Regions from separate parts of the Homo sapiens genome. Here regions 1, 3, 4, 5, 6 and 7 are each linked to region 2. Evidence: promoter capture Hi-C in 16 types of primary human blood cells and fetal thymus (Javierre and others, 2016). All regions are on one chromosome and are shown on one strand. Each heading gives the region's core, a stretch centred on a gene start or on the middle of the fragment in contact. The rest is flanking DNA. Distances are from core to core; before and after follow the strand shown.

Region 1 (2,964 bases), core at 7-2,506, 500 kb before region 2:
GACAGGCAGTTAGGTAAGAAGAAGAGGAGGAGGAGGAGGGCCCAGGAGAGGAACTGAATTCAGAGGGAAGCTGCCGGCCTGGAATCCGGAAGCCTGGGACTCTCTTCGGCCCTCCAGCACTTCATCAAGTATGGATGCTTTTCAAAATATAACAGACACTTGTCAATAACAACAACAAAAATAGTCAGCTTTTCCCCATTTGGTTTTATTAATCTGAGGCCATATTTAGGCAAATCCAATCTACTCCTGTGTCTAAACTTGTCTCTAATTTACATGTGTGTGGTACGTGCATGTTAATTTTTTTTTTCACTTCAAGAAAAAGTATGATCTAAAAATGTATTTTTTCCCTAAAGAGTCATGGGAAGAATCAATTTATCACAAATAATTTTAGTGATAGAATTTCTAATAAAAATAGGATTTTTCTTGAATTTTTACTAAATAAAAACTTGAATAATTAGCTACTGCAATGTATAGAGTTACATCTTCAAGAAAGAACATTATAGTGTGTCCTACATGCTGGGAAATTTTCCATATTGCTCGAAGAAATGAAAAGAAGGGATACGAAGTTGAGATAAAAAGTGATTTCCATGCCAAAGCTCTCATGTGTGGATCATAGTTCAGTCTTCATTAACTCCTTACTAATTTATTGCAAAATAAGGTAATTAATTCAGTGTTGAAAATATAATTCCTTATAAACTAAAAGAAAAGATTTGTTTAAGGAATACATAATAAGTACACACACATACACACATACATATGTTATTTTCCTTCTTTCTGTTATAGAACATTTAAAAAACTTTTTAAAAAGTAGAATAAAATGATGAACCTCTGAGATTCAAACATTTTCAATATTTTGCCAATCTTGTGCCAACTATTCCCCTGCTGTTTTTTTCTAAAATACATCAAATCCCAAACATCTTGTTGTTTGACTTGCAGATGACTTGGTCTGCATCTTTCACGGATCGGGCATTTTCCCCACGTAACCACGACACATATGACTATCCTTCACTCTAAACTAAGAAGACTTCCTTTACCTCTATAGCATCAAATACAAGTTCATATCCAAGTTTCCCTAATTATCCAGAAATGTGTTTTTACAGTTGGTTTGTTTGAATTAGGAGCCAAACAAGTTGGCATTTCCGATGATGGAACCTGTTTCAGCCTCTTTCCTCCCTTCCGTGGCCCCACTGGCTGGTTGCAGTGTCTGGGTCATTGGCTGCAGTGCCCCCAACCCTGGATTTGCTGTGTCCTTGTGGTGGTGTTTAACATGCTCCTCTACCCTTGAATTTCCTGTCAATTGCAGTTAAGACGAGGGTACTGCCAGCTTCACAGGCGTGCAATCTCATGGGGCCTTGCACTTAAGAAGGGCTCTGTGCTGGGCTTAATGCTCGGCCAGGTCTGCCCTGAATCTTGATACCTTTGCCTTTGAACTTGTGTTTTGGAAGCACTGCACAGCAGGGGCAGGAGCACAGGAGATTTGCATGATATGCACGTCTGCCATTCCTTGCCTCTCCATTCACACGCGGCATTGGTGACACAGTGAGCACAGAATTCCAGTGACCCTAGGATGCACGGGAGACCAGCAGGACTCGAGGCCAGGAACAGGTCACTGTGTGTGTTTGCCACTGAGTCTGTGGGAAAGCCACACCTTCCACATGAGTCCACTTCAAATGTAGAAAGAAGGCAGTGGCCTTGTGAATAACACCAACAACCAAAGACCCTATTGTACTTTTTCTTACTTATTCTACTTTCGTGTATTAGCCAAGCACTTACACTGAAAACAATGCATGGACGGAAAGAAGACGGGAAAAGCCACAGTTCCTTCTTTCAGTTCTTCCATTTTCACCAGTAAGCTGCAGGCAGTGTCAAGAAGGCAGTAGCACGGCCAGTATCGAGAAGTGAAATCAAAACCCTTGGTTTAGTTTTGCACAGCACTTCCACTGTTAAGGTAAAAATTAAATATACATACATATGTGAGCTACAAAATAGGAATCGTGTAATCTCTGTGTTTCTGCATGGGGATCTAATGCTTTTATATTTGTATTTAAAACTGACATTGCACAATATAAAATGAACAGTAACATTCAGCTAAAACATAAAAATTGAAATTTTCTTTACTTAGGATGACCTTAAGTAGCAAATAACAATGGTAAATTATTAGAGAGAACAGAGGAAAAGGAAAAGTTTTGTTTTTTAACACTGTTAAGAGCAGTTTTCCCTGTTTTGTGAACAAGGGACTGTGTGTTTTCATTTTATAGTTTCTCCCCTAACCTATCACTTTTGAAGTTGCTGCCCTGGCTTCAGAACCTATGAGTGTGGAGTAAAGCCCCACCTACACCTGCACAGAGCTCGGGCTCCCCTCCTCACTCATATGCTCTGTGGTCACTGTCCTCTTCGTCTCTAGGTCCCAGCAGACCAGGAGCACAGATGGGTCAGCCTACTCAGTTCTCCACTGGGCTCCCTGTTCTCAGAATGGTCTGTGTGTGGAGAAGACTCCTAAGTGCCTGGGAATAGGTAAGTGAGTTGGGGCAGAGGCCTGGCAGGCATCCTGGAGAGGGAGGATGTGACGTGGACTGGGTCAGTGATGGATGGTGGGGATAAGGAAGAGAGGGTGAAGGCAAGATTCTTCTCTACAGGGCACTGAAAGCCAGTGCCCGGCTAAGATAGATGTGGGGGTGAAGGAGAGACTGGGAAACTGGGTTCTGGGTTTCTGGTTTGGGCGACTGGGTGGATGGGGTGTCTTTACCTGAGCTGCTTCCTGAAGAAGGGGTCAGGGTTGTGGGAAGAGACTTCGTGTTCCACTTGGGACCTGCTAAATTTGAGGTACCTCAGGATCGTGCCTGTAGCCATATTCATCATGGAAGAGGGCTCCTGATTTGGGAGTTGGTGGCTCATATATTTCAGCCATAAAAAGATATGACATTATCAAAAGACAGCCATGGTGAGAGAAGAGGCGAGGGTCAA
Region 2 (3,174 bases), core at 239-2,738:
GTCTCCAAAACCCCGTAATTGCTCTCCTTTTCTTCAGCTGTATCTTGTTTTAAAGTTCTCTAATTCACCATTCCTTTCCTTCTAAGTTTAGCCTAAGCATTTCTTGCAATGACCAAAGTTTTCTAATTATTAATGAGATATTTAAGGAAATGTAAAATTGGCATTTTTATTTTGCTAACTGTATTTTTATCCACATAACTAGTTTCCCCCACCAAGAATCACAGGTCGAGAATGCTGTAAAAACGGATCCTTTCTCAGCTCCTAAAAGGAATGGCCTACAATCGAAGCGAACGCGCATCTCCGCCAGGTCCGCAACCACAGGCCCACGCCGTCGGGCCCCACGAACCGGCGCGCGCTGTCAAAGGCGCTTCCTCCCTGGAACGCGGGATTCCGGGGACAGTGTGTGCACTCAAGTTGAAAAGTTGTCATACTCCTGTTGGAAAGAAACGGAAACATCACCACCAGGAGGGTGGCCACTGAAGACCCTCGCCGACACCTGCTGGCAACCAAAGGCGCTTCCGGGGATCTACGGGCCGACCTGTAACTCAACACAAGCCTCCCAAGCCCTGCGGCCTTAAAACAACGCCCACCCGGGCGGTGCGCCGTTCCCGCCACCTCCACGCCTGCCTGGACCCGGACTCGAGACCCTGGCGGCGGGCCGGGCTCCCTCCGCCTGAGCAGGGACGCGGCGAGCGCATCCCACGACCCTCGGCAGCCGTTGCAGGCCTGGCGGACCTACACCCCACACCCTCACGGCCGCGTTCCCGCCGCGGGGCAGGGCGAGGCCCACGGCGCCTGCGCACTCAGTGACCGGGCCGCCCTGCGCCTCCGTGCGCACGCAGCACCACGTGACCCACTGCCAGTATCCAAGATGGACGCCGCGGCGAGGCCTGGCCGGCTCCCCGCGTTAGCCTGCACCCCATTGTGTGCCCTCTAAGCGCGAATTAGGCTCGCAGACATGCGGTGCTGACCGCTAGGCAGCCATGCGGGCTACCGAGTGCGACCGGACACGGCCGGGGCCCGTGTTTACGGCCACTACTGGCCCCCGGTCCCTGCGCCTCCTCAACCGCGAAGCACCCAGCGGCTGGCGCCTGGAGCGTCTTTTGGTACGCCCCACCCTCTAGAATTGGCAGCTCCAGCAGCCAATGAGGTCCAGGACGCGTGCGGGGAGGCGGGCAGGGGTGGAGCCTCTCTGCCGCTCATAGGGCATCCGGCCCCGCGGTTGAGCAGCCGCTGGGCGAGGGGTGGGAGCAGACGGGCTGTGCGCAGGTTTCAGCGGGCCAATGGAAGGCCGGCCAGGCGCCCGGGGCGGGCGGGCGGGAGGCGGGGCCGAGCCGTAATTGACGAGCTCTTCATTAGAAACCAGGCGGGAGGGCGGGGCCCGCAAGGGGAGGTGACGCAAGGCTGCCGCAGCCAATGGTTGGCGAGCCGCCGGCTGGCTGGGCGGGGCCGGGCCGGCTGACGGGCGTGCGGGGTGGCCTATCGCCGCCTGGCTCGACGCTGGAGTGGGGAGAAGCATCATGGTTCAACGTGGGTCAATTTTTTGTGAATGAGGAGGGGAGGTTGTGGGGCCGCCGCCGCGGAGCACCGTCCCCGCCGCCGCCCGAGCCCGAGCCCGAGCCCGCGCACCCGCCCGCGCCGCCGCCGCCGCCGCCCGAACAGCCTCCCAGCCTGGGCCCCCGGCGGCGCCGTGGCCGCGTCCCGGCTGTCGCCGCCCGAGCCCGAGCCCGCGCGCCGGCGGGTGGCGGCGCAGGCTGAGGAGATGCGGCGCGGAGCGCCGGAGCAGGGCTAGAGCCGGCCGCCGCCGCCCGCCGCGGTAAGCGCAGCCCCGGCCCGGCGCCCGCGGGCCATTGTCCGCCGCCCGCCCCGCGCCCCGCGCAGCCTGCAGGCCTTGGAGCCCGCGGCAGGTGGACGCCGCCGGTCCACACCCGCCCCGCGCGCGGCCGTGGGAGGCGGGGGCCAGCGCTGGCCGCGCGCCGTGGGACCCGCCGGTCCCCAGGGCCGCCCGGCCCCTTCTGGACCTTTCCACCCGCGCCGCGAGGCGGCTTCGCCCGCCGGGGCGGGGGCGCGGGGGTGGGCACGGCAGGCAGCGGCGCCGTCTCCCGGTGCGGGGCCCGCGCCCCCCGAGCAGGTGGGCTCCGGGCCGCCGGGAGTGAGGGCGGGGGCGGGCGGGCGCCGGGGCCGGCCGGGCGCCGTTTATGTAACTTTGTCAAATGCTGTGAGTTTGCAGAAAAACGTCCCTGCCGGGGGTCCGCGGCCCCGCGCTTGTCGTCGCCGCTGCGAGCGCCCGGGGGGTCGCGGGAGGGCGGGGGGCTGCCCGGGACCCGCTCGGCTCAGCCCGCAGGGCGCCAGCAGGCCGAGACGGGGCCCGGTCCCGCTCGGGGGTGGGATCCGCGTTTGCCGGCGTTGCGAAAACACACCACGGAATCATAAGCAAATTATCTCGTATTTACATTGAGCGTTGAATTATTTGACACTGTTATAGGAGGAGACCGTGCGTATCAGTTGGAAAGGCCGGGGGTGGAACCCAGTGTACTCATTTAATGCACATCAAAAATTTGTAATAACTTGAGGCAGCTGATATGAGTGTTTTCTTTATTGCATGTTGTAAATTGACCTGCTGTGACACAGTTTTCAAATAAAGCGTTGCAGAAATTAAACTTAAGTTATTTTAAAACTAATGACTTTCTTCACTAAATCCTAATTGCATGACTGTAGAGACCTACCTAATTGCTTGCTGAGAGCAGTTCTGCTTGCTCTCCGTGAGGGAGGAAAGGGCCTGTGCAGTCACTTTGCCGCCCCGTTTTTCTCTGTTCAGGCTTTTCTGTTTATTCCCACAAATCACCGAAGCAGTTAAGGCCTGGGAGTAAGCCTGTAAACAGTCCTGGCCCAGCGCCAGCCCAGCAGGACTGGGGGGATACTGGCAGGTTTGCACCTTGACCTGGTTTCACTTTTTCTTTTGTAATATGATCGTGGTTGCCTGGAGTTTTAATTGCTTCTGATAATTCTGTGCATTATTTTCGGGACTGTCCAAAGAAGGCTGGTGTGGTGGTTTCAGGACCTAGCCAGGAAAGGTGGTGGTGGTGGCTGGGGAGAGGGAGGGTGGAAGGGAGGGAGATCGAATTAAGAAAACTCAGCTGCTTGTACACAAATATACACTACAGCAGTTACAAA
Region 3 (2,814 bases), core at 50-2,549, 360 kb before region 2:
AGACTACACTCTCCACCTCCCATCACCATGACCGCCAGCTTCTCCAACAAAAGGTTCTGGGTGCTGGCGAGGTCCCCAGGGCACAGCGCTGGGTGTGAGAGTGCACAGGCAACTCTGATACGGCCCTGCCCTCAAACAGCTCCAGGATGTGTGGGGAGAGAGACATCTGGACACCAGTAACATGTTTCGGTGGCACGGTACTCACAGGCCCGCCAGCCTCCAGCCTCTCTGCTCCATATGGGGTGCGGCTGTCCCTGGGACGGTCACCTACAGAGGCCAGCAGTTGGCAGGCCATCTTCATCTGAGAGGCAGGGAGCAGGACGGAGGGAAAGGCTGCTTTGAAATCCTGTCCCTTCACCCAAACCAAGGACACTTGACGATAAAGCAAAGCTCCCTAGGAGCGGACGCTTCAACCTGTCTCCCCAGGTACCTCCCTGTGCACCCCCCATTCAAACCTGCTTCCCATGGGGATGCCTGCAAGGACACACTCTGAAAACACATCCCAGGAGATGAGCGGCAGTGTGAAACGACCCTGCCCACGAGGGTAGGCTGCGTGTCCAAAGGAGACCGACTGCCCTGGGCTGCTGGGCAAGAGAGTGTGAAGGCTCTGAATCGGCATGCAGAAGGCACTCGGTAAGTGCTAGAGGAACTTGAATCTGCCACGTGGGGATGACAAGGTGCTCTGAGCATCTACTGCTGTGTAACACATGACGCCTGAACTTGGTTGAAATAACAACAATCGGTCACTGAGCTCACCAGTCTGCACTTTTGGGGTGAATGGGGCTGAGAGACAGAGACAGAAAGGGAGAGAGAGGGGAAGCTGGCCACGTTGCTCTGGGAAGACATGTCTGGGCAGTCCTCCCGTCATGGCAGTGATGGTGGGGTATGCTGGTCAGCTGTTTCTCACTAGAGAGAAGAACCCTTTCGAGAGGCCTCCCTCCCTTTGGCCAGGTCAAGAGCTAAGGCTGAATGTTACCTGGCATGCTGTGAAGTCCCATGGGCCTGTGGCCCTGCCTGACTCTTGGGGAGCCTGCAGAAGTGAGGAGGGGTGAGCAAGAGGACACCAGGAGGAGAAAGATCAGTTCGGGGGAATCAGCACCAGGCTGGAGGGCAGGAAGAACAGCCGTCCCCACTCTCCACTTAGGATGGCCAGGCCTAGAGCCTGCAAAGAGGTCAACCCTTGAAATTCAGAAGTCCCAGGCCAGGCTGCTGGCTCTGAACCTCACATATGAATTCTCCTGAGCCACTCCACATCCCTGAGACTCAGTTTCCTCATCTAGGAAAGGGTTAATCACTGCACTTTCTTCCCAGCTTGGGTGAGTGGCATGTGATGCTCGGGGCCCCGCTGCATGGCATGGAGACCCCTTTTCTGATCGTGAGATCATCTTAGTTTCCACGCAGCCATGTATTTTGTCCCTCACGTTCGCACAGCCTAAGATTTTGTCTGTTACCACCTACCCTTGAAAGGCCGGTGAACCTCAAGCCTCTTCCGTGTGCACCTGCAGCTGCAGCCTGAGTTGATGGCAGGGCCTGCTCTGCCCCCAGGCAGCAGTGGAAAGGGCCAAGGGTCCTTCATTTCCACACCTGGGTACTCCCTAACCCTACAGGATGGATCTTTTTTTTTAGCAACTGGGGCATCTAAGAAGGAAGTACAGTGCATAGGAGGAAGAAGTGACCGGTGAAGCATCTCAACTTCATATGCTATTTGCTAAAGGCCTTTCTGCAGCTGTCTCTGGATAGGAGGGCCCCATGTTCTCCAGTGGACGTGTGTGTATGAGGAGGTCCCCATTGGACTCAATCAGATCACAAAGAGCAGGTGGCTATACCTGCAGACTTTACCTGTGGGGTCACTTCTGTGGGCTCTGACTTTGGCACACCTAGGATGACCTTGCTGGGGACCTGGGAAGAATGCCAGGGAGCTGCAGAGTTCCTTTCTTGCCTCTTGACTTGTGAGCTGGACAACAGGCCCTCTGTGCCCAGGATCCATGGGGCTCCTTCACTGGGCCCCGATGGGCAGGTCACAGAGGGTCTCCAGAAGAAGCTCTCACCCTTCACAGGAGCTGCCATGAAGGGCAAGTGACACAGTGTGCAAAAACATTGTACAAAGCAAAGCAGGCCGCACAAATCCAGAAAATGTGGAGAACAGGGGGCTGCCCAGGAATTTGGTATCATTTGTAAGTAAGACAAGAACTGCAAGTTCCAGGAGGTGGCGGTGTGCTTGGCAGGCGCCAGGCTGTGATTCTCTGACGGGTCTGATGGTGCCTGAGGCCGTCCTCAGAGGAAGGGCCACCTGCTCCATGTTAGGGAGAGAAAGCACTGCCTGCACCCTGGGAGCTGATGTTATGCCTAAAAGAAACGCACACAAGCAGAAGTGTCCTCGGGCAGATTCTCCCTCACTACAAACATCTTTCAGCCAAAGAGAAATTCTAGTTGCTCTAAGGGCAAAATCTGCAGAGCCCGTCTGATCGCTGGCATTGCTGCCACCTTCTCATCCTGCCATGCAGCCCTTCCCGTTGCACCACCCTCTCTCCACCTCTGTCACCTGACAGGCCCCACTTTCCAGGAGCCCCTCAGCCAGCGGGATTGCACTCTCAATTTCACCGCTGGGCATTCCTAATGGAATTCTGCTTCTTTTCCATTTCTTTCCAGGCCTCCTTTTATCCATGAATCTTAAAATTTCCAAATGATTTAGCTAGTCCTTGGAACGGAATCCCTTGTATAGAAGAACATAACAGCTCAGAGAATAAAGACAAGTGGCCAAAGCCACAAACAAAGCTAAGGGCTGAATCGTGGCTGGAATTCAGGTTTCCAGGC
Region 4 (2,904 bases), core at 347-2,846, 430 kb before region 2:
TGAAATACTCTGCAGATGGCCACCTGTTTTCTGATGTCCTGAGTGCCCACATAGTGGACAGCGGCCATCGGAGTCTGACTCGGGCTCTACGGGGGGCCCACTGGCCTGCCATGACCAGCACTGTCACTTCCTCTGCGGTAGGGAGGGAAGGAGGGAGAGAAGGACTGGTCCTGCCATCTCCTTGGTGGGGTTGATGGTCCTGGCACCATGTCCCTCCCAGGGTGGAGGAGAACTCGATTTCCGAGCAACCAGCCTAGGCGTATGGTGTCTCTGCCCTTCCCTTCCCCAACCCACCTCCTCCCCCTCTTCCCCTTCTTCACAGGCACCCACACGCATGACCACAGATCTTAGCTGCCCCAAGCCACCTGGGAGCATGGCCTGCTCATTGCTGCCCCTCTGCCGGCCAGGGACAGCCATGGGTGGGGCAGACACTATGATACCCACAGCATCTTCATCTCCAGCTTCCCGGAAGGGCTGGGGTCTGTCCACTGCCTCCACCTCTGCTCATTTACTCTCTTCGCCCAGGGCCATCTCTCCCTGGACTTTCGTGTTGCCAACCCTCCCGGCTCTGCTCGATGGGGATGGCCTTTCTCGTTTGCTCCTCTGCTGCCATTGTCCCTGGCCCCATTCTCCATGTCCCCCGTGAGGCCCCTCACCTTCCTCTCTTCCTGACAAAGCTCTCAGCCATGTTCCTCCGGGAGCCTCCTCTCCAGGGGCTGCCACCAGCTGGATCCTCCCCGTGTGCCTGCTCCCAATCTGTGCCCTCTTCTGGGTGTGCTTACCTGGGTGTCCCTCAGCCCTGGAGCCCATGATCTGCTGTGGATTCCCCACTCTCTCCTCCGTGGCTGTACTAACTCGCCGTGGACCTGGGTGGAGCTGGTGACCCTCCGTACTCCCGCTTTCCTCGGAACTGGAAGAACTTCGATGAGGCTGGTGCCTTTCAGAGGGGCCAACTGCCCGGGCTGCTCCATCTTATTCTCTCCTCCCCAGTTTAACACCAAGGTCAATGCTCTGATGTTCCTCCTGTTGTAGCTAAAGGCAGAGAAAGCCACCCAGTAACTCTGGGATCCTCCCATCCCAGGCCAACCACAGGACACAGGGAATCTGTCCTGTACTAGCCTGAGGCTGTCTCCCCGGAGGAGAGCACTAGCAAGGGACTGCCAGGCTCCTGGGCACTGAGTGGCTGGTTTGCAGACGACCTTGACTTACAGCAGAGGCAGGGAGAGCAGCAGCAAATGTGTGGGGTTCCCCACTCACTCCTGCAGGCTCTCCTGGGTCCTGCCGGCCTCCCTGCCCTGGGCGTCTCAGGATGCCCCTGCCCCTGCCCCAGGGTAACACGAGGCCCCTTCCTTCCCTTTCCTTTGACGATCCTGTCCCGGAATCACAGGGGTGCTTCCCATCTGAGGCTCCCTGGCTTTGCACACACATGTCAGACTTGGTGATACCATATGCTAGTTATTTACCAAGTGTGCACCAAGCGTTACGCTTCTGTGATGAAAACAATGGAAAGCGAAGACCTTCCCTTCCCAGTGCATCTCACTGAACCGTGGGGTGCTAGTCTGGCCTCCTGGTTTTCCTTTCTCTGTCTTTTTTTTTTTTTTTTAATTTTTATGCTTGCTTGTCAGAGACCTGATTTCCTTTGACTTGCTTCTGATATGTTATTGCACACACTCTGAACTCCTGACCTCAAGTGATCCACCTGCGTCAGCCTCCCAAGATGCCGAGATTACAGGCATGAGCCACCGGGCCTGGCTGTACAGGAAAAAGGTTTAATGGACTTACTCTTCCACATGGCTGGGGAGGCCTCACAATCACGGTGAAAGGCAAGGAGGAGCAAATCATGTCTCACATGGATGGCAGCAGGCAAACAGAAAGAGCTTGTGCTCCCCTTTTCAAAATGATCAGATCTCATGAGACTTATTCACTCCCCTTTTTAAAACTATCAGATCTCATGAGACTTATTCACTGTCATGAGGACAGCATGGGAAAGACCCATCCCCATGACTCAATTACCTTCTACTGGGTCCCTCCCACAACATGTGGGAATTCAAGATGAGATTTGAGTGGGAACACAGCCAAACCATATCAGCAGGGCTCAAGAGATATTTGTTGAGTGAATAAATGACCTGGTTTGTGAATTTCCACAGTTACTTACTTCCCTATTCATTTTCTCAAATTGCAATATGGAGAATTCTCTGCTTCCCTCATGGGATGATAGTTTATATGTGACAGAGCTTTGTGCCTGGAGTGACTGTTTTCACTAAGGATAACCGAGCAGCCCGTGACCCCCCCAAGACCAGCCACGTCACCCTCACTGGGAGTTTGCAGAACAGCAGCGCCTCCCACCGAGGCCACCAGTCAGTATCTGCATCCGCTAATACCTGCAGGGAGGCGTGCACCACCCCCAGCCCAGAGGCTCCGTCTCGGAGGGAAAGTTCCCTTGAGGGAGCAGGGAGGCCTGCAGTCAGCATGTGAGCCCTCCGGGCTGTTCTGCAAAGCTGGCCAGGAGGGCTGGGCTCATGGGGCCAGGCCATTATCTCTCATCCCCCGGTTTACACTTTCCCCACATTCCTCCCAGCCCGGAAGGGTCAGCAGCTGGTTTCTTAGGGCCCCCAGGGGGCATGTGTCACAGAGCATGTGCAGAGCCTATTGTCAGCCGCAGCAGCCATCGAGGAGCCCTCCTCGCCCATTTCCTGTGGGCCATTGATCCTCTCATGGCCCTTTCCAGCTTTAGACCAGCTGGCTGCCATTCTAGGCACTTAGCGTGTGCGGAAAAATTTTATGTTTTCATGATATCAGCAGGAAAATAGGAAATGGCTTGGAAAACAGGGAGGCATAAAACAATGGTTTGAGGAGAGTGAGCCTTGGATAAACATCCCTGGTTGCCCTTTGGAATGTGTGGAT
Region 5 (3,170 bases), core at 126-2,625, 350 kb before region 2:
GTAGGGTCAGGGCTGGGGTGTGGTGAGCTCCAGGGCGGGGCTTCCGCTGTGGGCAAGCACCGGGCACTGGGCGTGGGCAGAGGTGCTCCGCACAAGGGGAGAGTGGGAGGAAGTCAGGACGCGGGAGCCGTGCAGTCAGACCATCAGGGCGGGGTCCGGGCTGTGAGCACACGTGCTGTTGAGGATGCTGGGGAAGAAGCGGCCACAGGGATGAGGGCAGCAAGCCAGAGCAGCAGGGGACAGGCACTGCGAGACCACACCCACCCCGGCACCTTCCCCTCCTGCTTAGCAGAAATTTGGATGCGGGCTTTTCCCTAAGCAGTGGGTTTTGGAGGTTCCCAACAATTGTGCCTTAGGCTCAAGAGATGGGAAGAAATCAAAATCCCATCGGGGTCACACATTTGGAGGTTTCCGAGTTTCCTGAACACTGGACACAAGCCCAGCCTCCACCTGCTGCTACCATGGCCCAAGCGCCTTCTCCCCAACAACTCCAGGGTCTACTAAGCAGTGGGCACCGCGCCAGGCACCCAGCGGGGCACTGTCAGGGGTGCAGAGATGAACCAGACAGCGTCTGTGCCCTCAAGGAGCTTACCAGAGGCTGGGAACACAAGACAGCTGCCCTGTTCCACGTGTATGGGGTGACATCAGACACAGTCCATCCATTGTCCATTAGAAGCAATCCCCCAACTCCCAGCAGGAGGGCCGGGAGGCTGTGCCGGTTCAGGGGTGCACTGGAACCCCGAGTCCTTTCTCCATCCTACCTCACCTTCCCCCGTGGCTTTGCTTCATCCTAGAACTAGAGCAAGACCACAGCTGCAGCTCCAGCCGGGACAATGCCCTAGGAAGTGGGAAGTGGCTCTCTGCCCAGGAGACCTATTAGACAAACAAACAACAAAACAAAAAAGAAGCTTTTTGTGATGGCAAATTTCAAACATGGACAAAAGTGGAGAGAACCGGAGAATGGGCGCCAGGCCCCACCTCGGCATGTGGGTGGTGCTCCCTCCGCCTGTCCACCCTCCTCTCCTCTCTCCTCATGCCCCAACCCGCCCCCCACACCTGTGGAAAATGCACACTCATTCCTCAGTATCGGGGTTCACATTTTCCTGATGGTCTATCCTTTGTTTTACAGGTTTAAAAACAATTGGAATCAGGACGCAGTTAAGGGCCGTGCATTGTGATTGGTTGGGGTATACGTTTTAGCCTGCAGGTCTCCTTCCACATCTGTTTTTACATTAACTTTTAAAATGTTTTACTACTTATTTGTTTGTTTTTGTGGTGGTGGTTGTTAAAGAAATTGGATCATTTCTCATTTTCTGAGTTTTGCTGAATACATCCCAAGGGTGGCATTCAACCTTTTTCCCTGTCCCCTGTAATTCCTGAAAGCTGTCGACAGGCTCCGCCGGGTATTTTGGGGAGGCTGCGCTTAGACCCTGCTGCTGGCTTTCATCTGGAGGCACGCGGGGTCCTGCTTTCTCTGGGATGTGTGCAGCGGCTGATTAGCTGCCTCGGTTCATGGCTTCCTCGGGGACTGCAAAACAACAATATCCTAACTCTAGGCTTGCTCCTGTGTTTATCAGCTGGAACACTCCCACCAAAACAAACTTCCCTTTCATACCAACTTAGCTGCCCTGAGGGACGGTTTGCATAGAGAAGTCAGTAAAGGCTTCATTTTTATCCTTTACTTATCCGTGTTCAGAGTAATGAGGTGGTTCTCCAGCTGCAGCCGAAGTTGACCAATTATCTTTTTGTTTTCTTATGAACTCATGGATGTAGACACAGTGGCGGTGTTACGATTCATTGCGGCTATCATTCTTATTCTCACTCAATCGTATCTGAAGCTTTGGAACAATGAGGAGATCTTCTGGGGCTTCTCTGACTGGCCCCTCCCCACGCCCACATCTCCTCATCCAGAATCGGGTCTGAAGTCCACGCCTGATCCCCCATCAGCCGGAGAGTGATGACGGAGCCCATCGGACTGAAGCTCTGGGGCTGGGATGGGCCAGCGCCCTGAGGAGTGTGACCACCTGGAGGACGGACACACCTGATCAATATGGAAGGGGATGGAGGGGGAAGGAGACAGGGAGCTGGGGCTGGGAGCCCCTGCCAGGGTGGGCCTCAGGCCTTCTGGGGCATGGGCAGACCAAGTGTATTCATGTGTGGGAGGCCCCTGGAACAGTGCAGGGACAGGGGGGCTCCATAAATACTCCCTGCTGTTACCACTGCTGTGGCCAAAAGCACAGTCATTAAAAAGTCGGCCCTGAATGTGCCGACTGTGAAGAGCCCGCGGACAGGAAAGTGACCCTGTGCCCACCAACAGGCTTCAGAGCGGAGGGTAAAAGTGGAAGCTGGTGGTGCCAGCCTCGAGGACTCAGCGCCGATGCTGTCCCCCAAGTCCCTGGGCTCGGGCGCTCGGGAGCCATGAGGGTGCTCGGAGCCACCTTTCCTCCTCTAAGCTGCTGCTGCCGCAAAGGCGCAGCGCAGGCAGGGAGCAAGGCGGAGGCTGACCTGGCTCTACGACTTCCGGGCAGAGCTGGTCCTGGCTTCCAGACGGCCAGACTCTCAGTGCTGTCTCTCATGGGCCTCACGGGAGGGCAGAGATGCTCCAAGTCCTCTCCGAGTCAGAGAGGCTTCCGATGTGCCTTGTGACAGTGACCCTGCAGTCCTTGGGTGTTCTTGTCCTGTGACAAGTCCCACAGCCTCAGCCTGACTCTCTCCAGGCTCCCCTGCACAGCCCCAGGCCAGAGAGCCTCTGCCAAGCCCCCAAGTGACAGCACTGCCTGTGCCTGACATCCCCAGACACACAGCAGGTGTGCAGATTTATGTTTGTATAGCGATAGATACAGATATTGGTATATAGATAAACATGACTACATTAAACTTATATATGATCATTGCTTCCCAGAAAAATGATGACTATATTCTTTGAATCTGTTTCCGTGCATATGCATATATCTGTATTATATATATATGTATCTTGTACACTCATTCATATATATAATACACACATTTTTATATATCTATAGTTACATATAAATTATATATGTGGGTATATATGCTTGTTTATATTTGCTTATATATTGATGTATTATATTATGTAAAACCATATGTGGTCAAATATAGTTATTGGTACAGTGATAAACAAATATGGCTGTGGACCACATCCCCTATAA
Region 6 (2,752 bases), core at 236-2,735, 390 kb before region 2:
ACTGTGCTCCAGGGCCAGGGGCCTGCAGGTGCAATTTTACATACTCCACTGTCCTTAATGTCTACAACTGTTGAAATTCCAAAAATACAACAATGACTTTCTCTTTTAGAAAAAAATCGACCTGTCCAAGACTTGGAAGCCCTAGAGAAATGTGGCCTGGTGCCATGGGACAAAGACCACACAGAGGCTGGCTGTGGCACACCCCCAGGAGGTAATCCTGCTCTCCTGAGGCCATCCTCGTGCTGGACATCAAGTATTCCCTCCAACGTCCGTGTCCCTAGGCACTGAGGACACAGAGATCTAGCCTCAAGTGGTTTCAGCAGGAACCCTGTGGGGTTAAATTCCCAACACGACTAATGAGGCAGGAGTAAGGGTAGGAGGCCATACTGACGGGTCTCCCTGTGGGAAGCCTGGAAGACTCTTCCCTGCACCTTCATGCATCAGCACCTGACTCTTTTGCAAGGTAAGCGCTCTTGCAGGATACCAGCCGCCTGCCAGATGGTTACCTGTTCCTGATCCCTGGCCCAGGAAAGAGAACAAAACCCCTTTTTCCTGATGTAGCTTCCTCAATCTCCAGCCAATCACCACCAAAAGCCCAAGAAGCTATTAGCTATAAATTCTTGCCTTGTGGGGGGTGGCCAGGGACTTCTCCAGGGTCCCTCATGTGCTAGGCTCAAGGTTTAGCTTATAGTGACCTTTTCTTCATTTTAGTAGTCCAAACACATCCACAGGTGGAGATTTCATATGCTAATTATGCATGGAATACGTGTTAGATCATGTAGATTCTGAGCACATGCGCTAGCCGCAGGTCCGCCTTTGCACACCTGACCTCACCAGTGTTTTATGAATATTCATACACAGCTCCCATAAGGGGAATTCCTCTTAAGGCACTGGCTGCTGTCTCTCCCTTTGAGAGGTCCACCCTGCCTCTCAGAGTGTACCTTTGCTTTGCAATAAACTTCTTTGCCTACTCTTACTTTGAACTTGCTCTCAAATTCTTTTTGTGACAAACTCAAGAACCTGAACCAACCTACCAATAACACTTTTACAACATGAAAATTCAAGCACAGCAACTAAATTAAAGTAGCTCGATGGCCTGATCCTTGGCTTTTCAGTCACGTGAATGCTTAGATCTTAACTGATTTCCTCAGGCTATTTTTAACAACAGTGGCTCTGTTGATATAGAATAAATACAAGCTAGCATAGCCAATGACTACTCATGGGAGCAGTAGGTAATATCAAGGTGTTTTTCCTCTTCCCCAACGCTGGAGATATTTATTAGAAAGGGAAAGTGAAGGGAGAAAGGATAACCACATGTTCATGCTAAGAGGACCCATCCATCACTTTAATTCAAGTCAGAATTTAAAAATATCGCACTACGTTCTTGTTTGTTGGATCCAGAGATCCAAGTTATTGGGCATTTCAATCTTGACATTTGCATCCAGACAGTTTGCAAAGGGTAAAGGTAGAAAATGCTGTAAACCCAATCAACTGCTGCTTGATATTCCAAGTAGGGTGAGTAACCTTTTCAAATAATAGAGGAACTTGTGAGTGATAAGATGAACTTTGACCTCTGGAATCACAGATTCTTGGTAATGCATCTCTTTACCTTTGACTTGCCTTCTTTATAAATACCTTGAGGTGCTGGGTTTTGATAATAAAGAAACAAGATCTAGTAAATCTTGTAGAGCTTACAGGCAAGATCCCATATGTCACTGTGGTGCTTTCTGGCTGCAACCGCAGCAACCTTCATGACACCCTGTCATCCTGCCTGGCCACACTGGCCTTTCCAATTGCAGAAACACTCTTGGGGGCTGGAGTGGGTGCAATCCTGCATCATGACCAGAGCTTTCCAAGAAGGGATCTTATTCCAGCCTGCCGATGTGCATGGGGCAGACCTGCCTCAGTCACCCTGACTTCATTTCTAATTGCTTTTTCTAATGACGTGGTGCTGTGGCTGAGATGGGCAGCCTCGCCATGGTGACACTGCCCGTGTAGATGTAGATGAGGTCAGCTCATCTACATCTGCCTCTGCCATTCCAGTGGCCCATGGAGCTTTGGTTGCTGGGTCTCCAGGGACATAAGGCACAGTAACCACTGTTCAAACAGGACAGTCCTCAGCGTAAAGAGGACAGTAGAAATGATAAAAATATGTAATGTTTGAAATATGTATTTATTAACCAGCAAATTGATTACATTACATTACTGAATCCATAAAATAGCTCCGTGAATAAATAAATTTCAAAAATAACATTCCTATTAAAAATAATGTATTTTCATGTTCATCAAAGCAAAATAATCTTTATATTGGATATCTGAACACTGAAAAAATAGCCAAACAGATTATTCTTGATATATATTCATATACTATATTTGAATCTGCTACTTAGCCATTTCTCTTTTCATGAAATTCATAGTTTATCTCTCATCTTTTTAATCTCTTCATAAAATTACAATCTTCTTTAAATTTTTGCTTTATCATTAATAAATTTAAAATGATAGACACCTTCAATGGACTCTTCTCTGCTGCCCATCGTATGTTAGAGAAAACATTCTCTCTAACCGTGCTGAGGTATCAAGTAAGTGCAGCAGAATTTCTGCTAAGTGGAGGATAATCTTAATTCTATTTCTCATATATAAGTGTGTAAATATTTCAGGCCAAATGTTTCCATAGATACTATCTTTATGCCTCCATTCAGAGTACATTTTTTTTGGCAAAGATAGGATAAAACTTGTCAAATAAATTGTGTCT
Region 7 (3,022 bases), core at 347-2,846, 450 kb before region 2:
GAGGCCCAATAGGTGGGTCATGCTGATGTTGGTGCTGCATAGTCCATTACTGTGAACATTCCTGAGTCCACCCAGGAGCGAGGCTCAGGGTTCACTTCTGGGTGTGCCGAAGGGGATAAAGCAGGCTCGGCCACCCTCATGGGAGCCTGGATTCTCCCTCAGAGACACAGCAAAGGGAGGGGCTACATATAGGTGGGCATATAAAGGAGTTTGATGCTGCCGATGAGCTTTAAGGCTCTGGGGTCAAAAATGAGCGTGGGGTGTGTGCACACACATGCCTGGCTTCTCTAATACTGGATGCACCTGCACCTTGGAGGGGTCCCAGCTCACAGGCCAAACAGCAGGAGGAGGTGGAGAAATGGCCTCAGGTCTGGTGACAAAACACCAGGGCAGTGGAAGGCTGCAAGTAAACGTTTTTCATGTACACTGGAATAAAACTGTCAGCCTTGTACTTCCTTTGCCAATTTCCTTTTCAAGGCAAGGGAAACAGAGCCAGCTGTGAGCCTAACACAGCAGGACATTTTGCTCGGGTACCAGTGTAGTTGACATCAAACTCAATGGGATCAGTATGGGCTTAGGTTGTCAAGGGAACCTAAGATCCCTTTTGCCACCCAGAGCCTGTTCAGAACGGGGACATCTAGTCATGGAAAATGGTAAAATTATCATAAGATCAAAGAGCAACTTGTGCGAAAGGACCTCTCTTCTTCAAGGGAAAAATCAGACTAGATTGATAGACAGTTGGGAATCTAGCTCTGGTTTGATTCTTAGATGAAGGAGAGCCCGAGGTAAAAATCAGAAAAGAGACCACATTAATTTTCAGGACCAAAAAAGTAGGAAAAAATAACTTTTTCTGAACAGAATGTTCTTGGTTGACAGGGATGCCTATAAGTGAGACCAGCCTGGAAGGCAAGGTTGTGTCATGCCTGGAAGCCAAAGTCCCTGGGTAGTCCCTGCGCCCTTTTTAACCGCTGGGCAACATGGGGAAGGCACGTGGCTTCCCCGGGTCTCCCTTCCCTTCCCTGTGTGCTGGTGGACTGGAGCGGGAGGGCCTCTGATCTGCAGGTGCCGAGGTCCCAGACTCTCCCCAGGTGGAGCCAGGCTCCGCCTGATCAGGGGAGGAGGCTGCAGGATTCTCATCCTCATACTGAGCTGGAAGGAGCTGGGTCAGCAAGGAATGGCCTGTTCCTCAGCCGGATGGTGAAGAAAGTAAGGCAGCATGAGAGGCCTGCTTGACACTTTTATCCATTTTGCTACTGGGATTCCCAATCAGATTTTATTTTTCAAAAGTGTTTGTGCTAATTGTTTGACAAATATGAAATTAATCAGAGTTCAGCGGTGTAGCTGACATGAGCTCTCTGTGTGAAAATCCAAATCTTGCCTATGCACCAGTAGACATCAATTAAAAAATTATAGTACAAAAACAGATTGTGTTTCAAATCCCTACAAAAATATGTCCTTAGAAACATGCCTGAGAATTGTTTTATGGAGAAAGTCATACAGATTTCCTGACAGACAAGAGGACAAGAAAAAATCGAGAAGGATGCCATGTCATAGGAGGGAAAGACTCCTTGTTGTAAACGTATCAGTTCACCCCAAATTAACTTATAAAATCAATGCAAATCTAATCAAAATCGCAAAAATGTAATAGAAAAAAAAGAGTTTTCAGAGGATGTCAGCAAGATGGCTGATCAGAGTTACCTGCAGCATCCCCTGCCCCACAACACACACAAAAAGTACCAAAACAACAAATAAGCAACTGTATTTCAACCAGCATGACTGAGGATGTACACTGGAGAGCACCAGGGCCGTGGCACAGTCTGTGGAGCACAGAAGCCCAGGATAGCACCGTAAAGACGAGAGCAAGGCATCCTGCTTCTGCCACACTGTGTCCCCCGCCCAGGACTGGCTCAGAGTCAGGGCCGATTTCTTCTTACGGGTAATGGAGATCCACAGCACTCCTCATTGCTTTCACAAACACCAGCAATCCTTGCTACGGGAAGGGCCCCCAGTCCTCACAGGCCCCAAATCCAGTTTGGAGAGTAGCTGGGACTTGTTGCAGTTATATTACCTGAGTAGGAGCCTGAACTGAGTGCCCCCAACCCTGTTACCTAAGCTGCTGCAACTCAACACCATTTTGAAACTGAACCTACTAATAGGGTATGCCCTGTCCTGGGGATGAGTAGCAACCAACTATATCCATCCTTCAGGCCCTACTGTCACTACCATGTTCACACAGGTGCCTGCAGTACCTTGAACCCAACTTCCCAGAGCCTAGCCCAGACAGAACACCTGAGACCCCACCCAGCATCTGAACCCATGTGGCACACCATCCCCACCACCCCCCCACCCAGGGAACAGGTGGGCCTGCACAGCAGAGCAGTCACCCAACAGCTGGCTGGTCACCTCACCTACATGCACCTGAAATGCTTAGCCAGTCAGCCCTCTGAGCTTATGCATGTCTCTGCATAGATCAACAGCCAGCCCTGTGATGACCTTGCCCTGCTGGGTAGATTGCTATAAAGCCACCTAGCCCTACTGCATCCACATGTACCTGTCCCAATATCCAGTCCACCAGCAGCCCTGTTTCCCTAAAGAGACAGTACATACACAGTTTCCTGGCCAGCCATGCCCACGCATGCCTGAGTCTTGCATTTAATTCACCTTTTCTTGCTTCCAGAGAACCCAATGGACAGCTTTTTGGCCCTCCATATCCGTATGTGCCCAGCCCAACAACCAGCTCAGCACTCCCTCCCCCAGCAAAACCACACCACTACCATCACAAACTCCCATACCCTACACCACTGAGGCAATCACAGACCTTGATGATGAAGATTATTATATGATATGAGGAAACTATATGACAGCTGCACTACTGAGTCCACCCAGAACCAAAGCCAACATCCTAGGACATATCTACAGGAAAATGTCTTTCCCTATGAAACCTACTCCATAAAATTGGAAAAAGTGGCTATTCCACTAGATGCACAAATATCAATGTAGAAACATGAAAAAGCAAGAAAGC

Evidence for each region. The method cuts DNA at HindIII sites, captures the fragments that hold promoters and counts their contacts. A CHiCAGO score of 5 or more calls a contact.
Region 1: a fragment that was not itself captured here is called in contact with the fragment with the promoter of HDAC4 in region 2 in 4 of 17 cell types (M2 macrophages, fetal thymus, M0 macrophages and 1 more); the score reaches 7.6 in M2 macrophages.
Region 3: a contact is called between a fragment that was not itself captured here and the fragment with the promoter of HDAC4 in region 2, in 1 of 17 cell types (M0 macrophages). The highest score is 5.9, in M0 macrophages.
Region 4: a fragment that was not itself captured here is called in contact with the fragment with the promoter of HDAC4 in region 2 in 3 of 17 cell types (M0 macrophages, M1 macrophages and M2 macrophages); the score reaches 10.6 in M0 macrophages.
Region 5: a contact is called between a fragment that was not itself captured here and the fragment with the promoter of HDAC4 in region 2, in 1 of 17 cell types (M0 macrophages). The highest score is 7.5, in M0 macrophages.
Region 6: a fragment that was not itself captured here is called in contact with the fragment with the promoter of HDAC4 in region 2 in 2 of 17 cell types (M0 macrophages and M2 macrophages); the score reaches 8.0 in M0 macrophages.
Region 7: a contact is called between a fragment that was not itself captured here and the fragment with the promoter of HDAC4 in region 2, in 1 of 17 cell types (M1 macrophages). The highest score is 5.1, in M1 macrophages.

What each region holds. Positions count from the first base shown.
Region 1 is chr2:239,894,755-239,897,718 of GRCh38, reverse strand. It overlaps a transcript of NDUFA10 not described here. Among named protein-coding and RNA genes, the nearest start is that of MIR4786, 47 kb to the left of the region's middle. RefSeq lists enhancers at 825-1,325, 1,326-1,826. The HindIII fragment of the contact is 7,976 bases long and covers 1-2,964 here.
Region 2 is chr2:239,399,334-239,402,507 of GRCh38, reverse strand. It overlaps HDAC4 (histone deacetylase 4), which reads left to right and starts at 1,488. Exons shown (of 27, transcript NM_001378414.1): 1 at 1,488-1,530. It overlaps HDAC4-AS1 (HDAC4 antisense RNA 1), which reads right to left and starts at 1,072. Exons shown (of 2, transcript NR_135575.1): 1 at 972-1,072; 2 at 151-433. RefSeq lists an enhancer at 280-409 and silencers at 540-809, 1,080-1,199, 1,220-1,659, 1,670-1,839. The HindIII fragment of the contact is 12,493 bases long and covers 1-3,174 here.
Region 3 is chr2:239,763,342-239,766,155 of GRCh38, reverse strand. All of the region lies in intron 1 of LOC150935 (a long non-coding RNA gene), which reads right to left. Among named protein-coding and RNA genes, the nearest start is that of MIR4786, 180 kb to the left of the region's middle. The HindIII fragment of the contact is 3,440 bases long and covers 1-2,814 here.
Region 4 is chr2:239,831,173-239,834,076 of GRCh38, reverse strand. No RefSeq gene overlaps it. Among named protein-coding and RNA genes, the nearest start is that of MIR4786, 110 kb to the left of the region's middle. RefSeq lists an enhancer at 2,193-2,708. The HindIII fragment of the contact is 5,213 bases long and covers 1-2,904 here.
Region 5 is chr2:239,744,425-239,747,594 of GRCh38, reverse strand. No RefSeq gene overlaps it. Among named protein-coding and RNA genes, the nearest start is that of LINC02991, 170 kb to the right of the region's middle. RefSeq lists enhancers at 1-262, 161-1,360. The HindIII fragment of the contact is 930 bases long and covers 911-1,840 here.
Region 6 is chr2:239,786,995-239,789,746 of GRCh38, reverse strand. The region is part of intron 2 of LOC150935 (a long non-coding RNA gene); the gene reads right to left. Among named protein-coding and RNA genes, the nearest start is that of MIR4786, 150 kb to the left of the region's middle. The HindIII fragment of the contact is 5,294 bases long and covers 1-2,752 here.
Region 7 is chr2:239,851,348-239,854,369 of GRCh38, reverse strand. No RefSeq gene overlaps it. Among named protein-coding and RNA genes, the nearest start is that of MIR4786, 90 kb to the left of the region's middle. The HindIII fragment of the contact is 7,455 bases long and covers 1-3,022 here.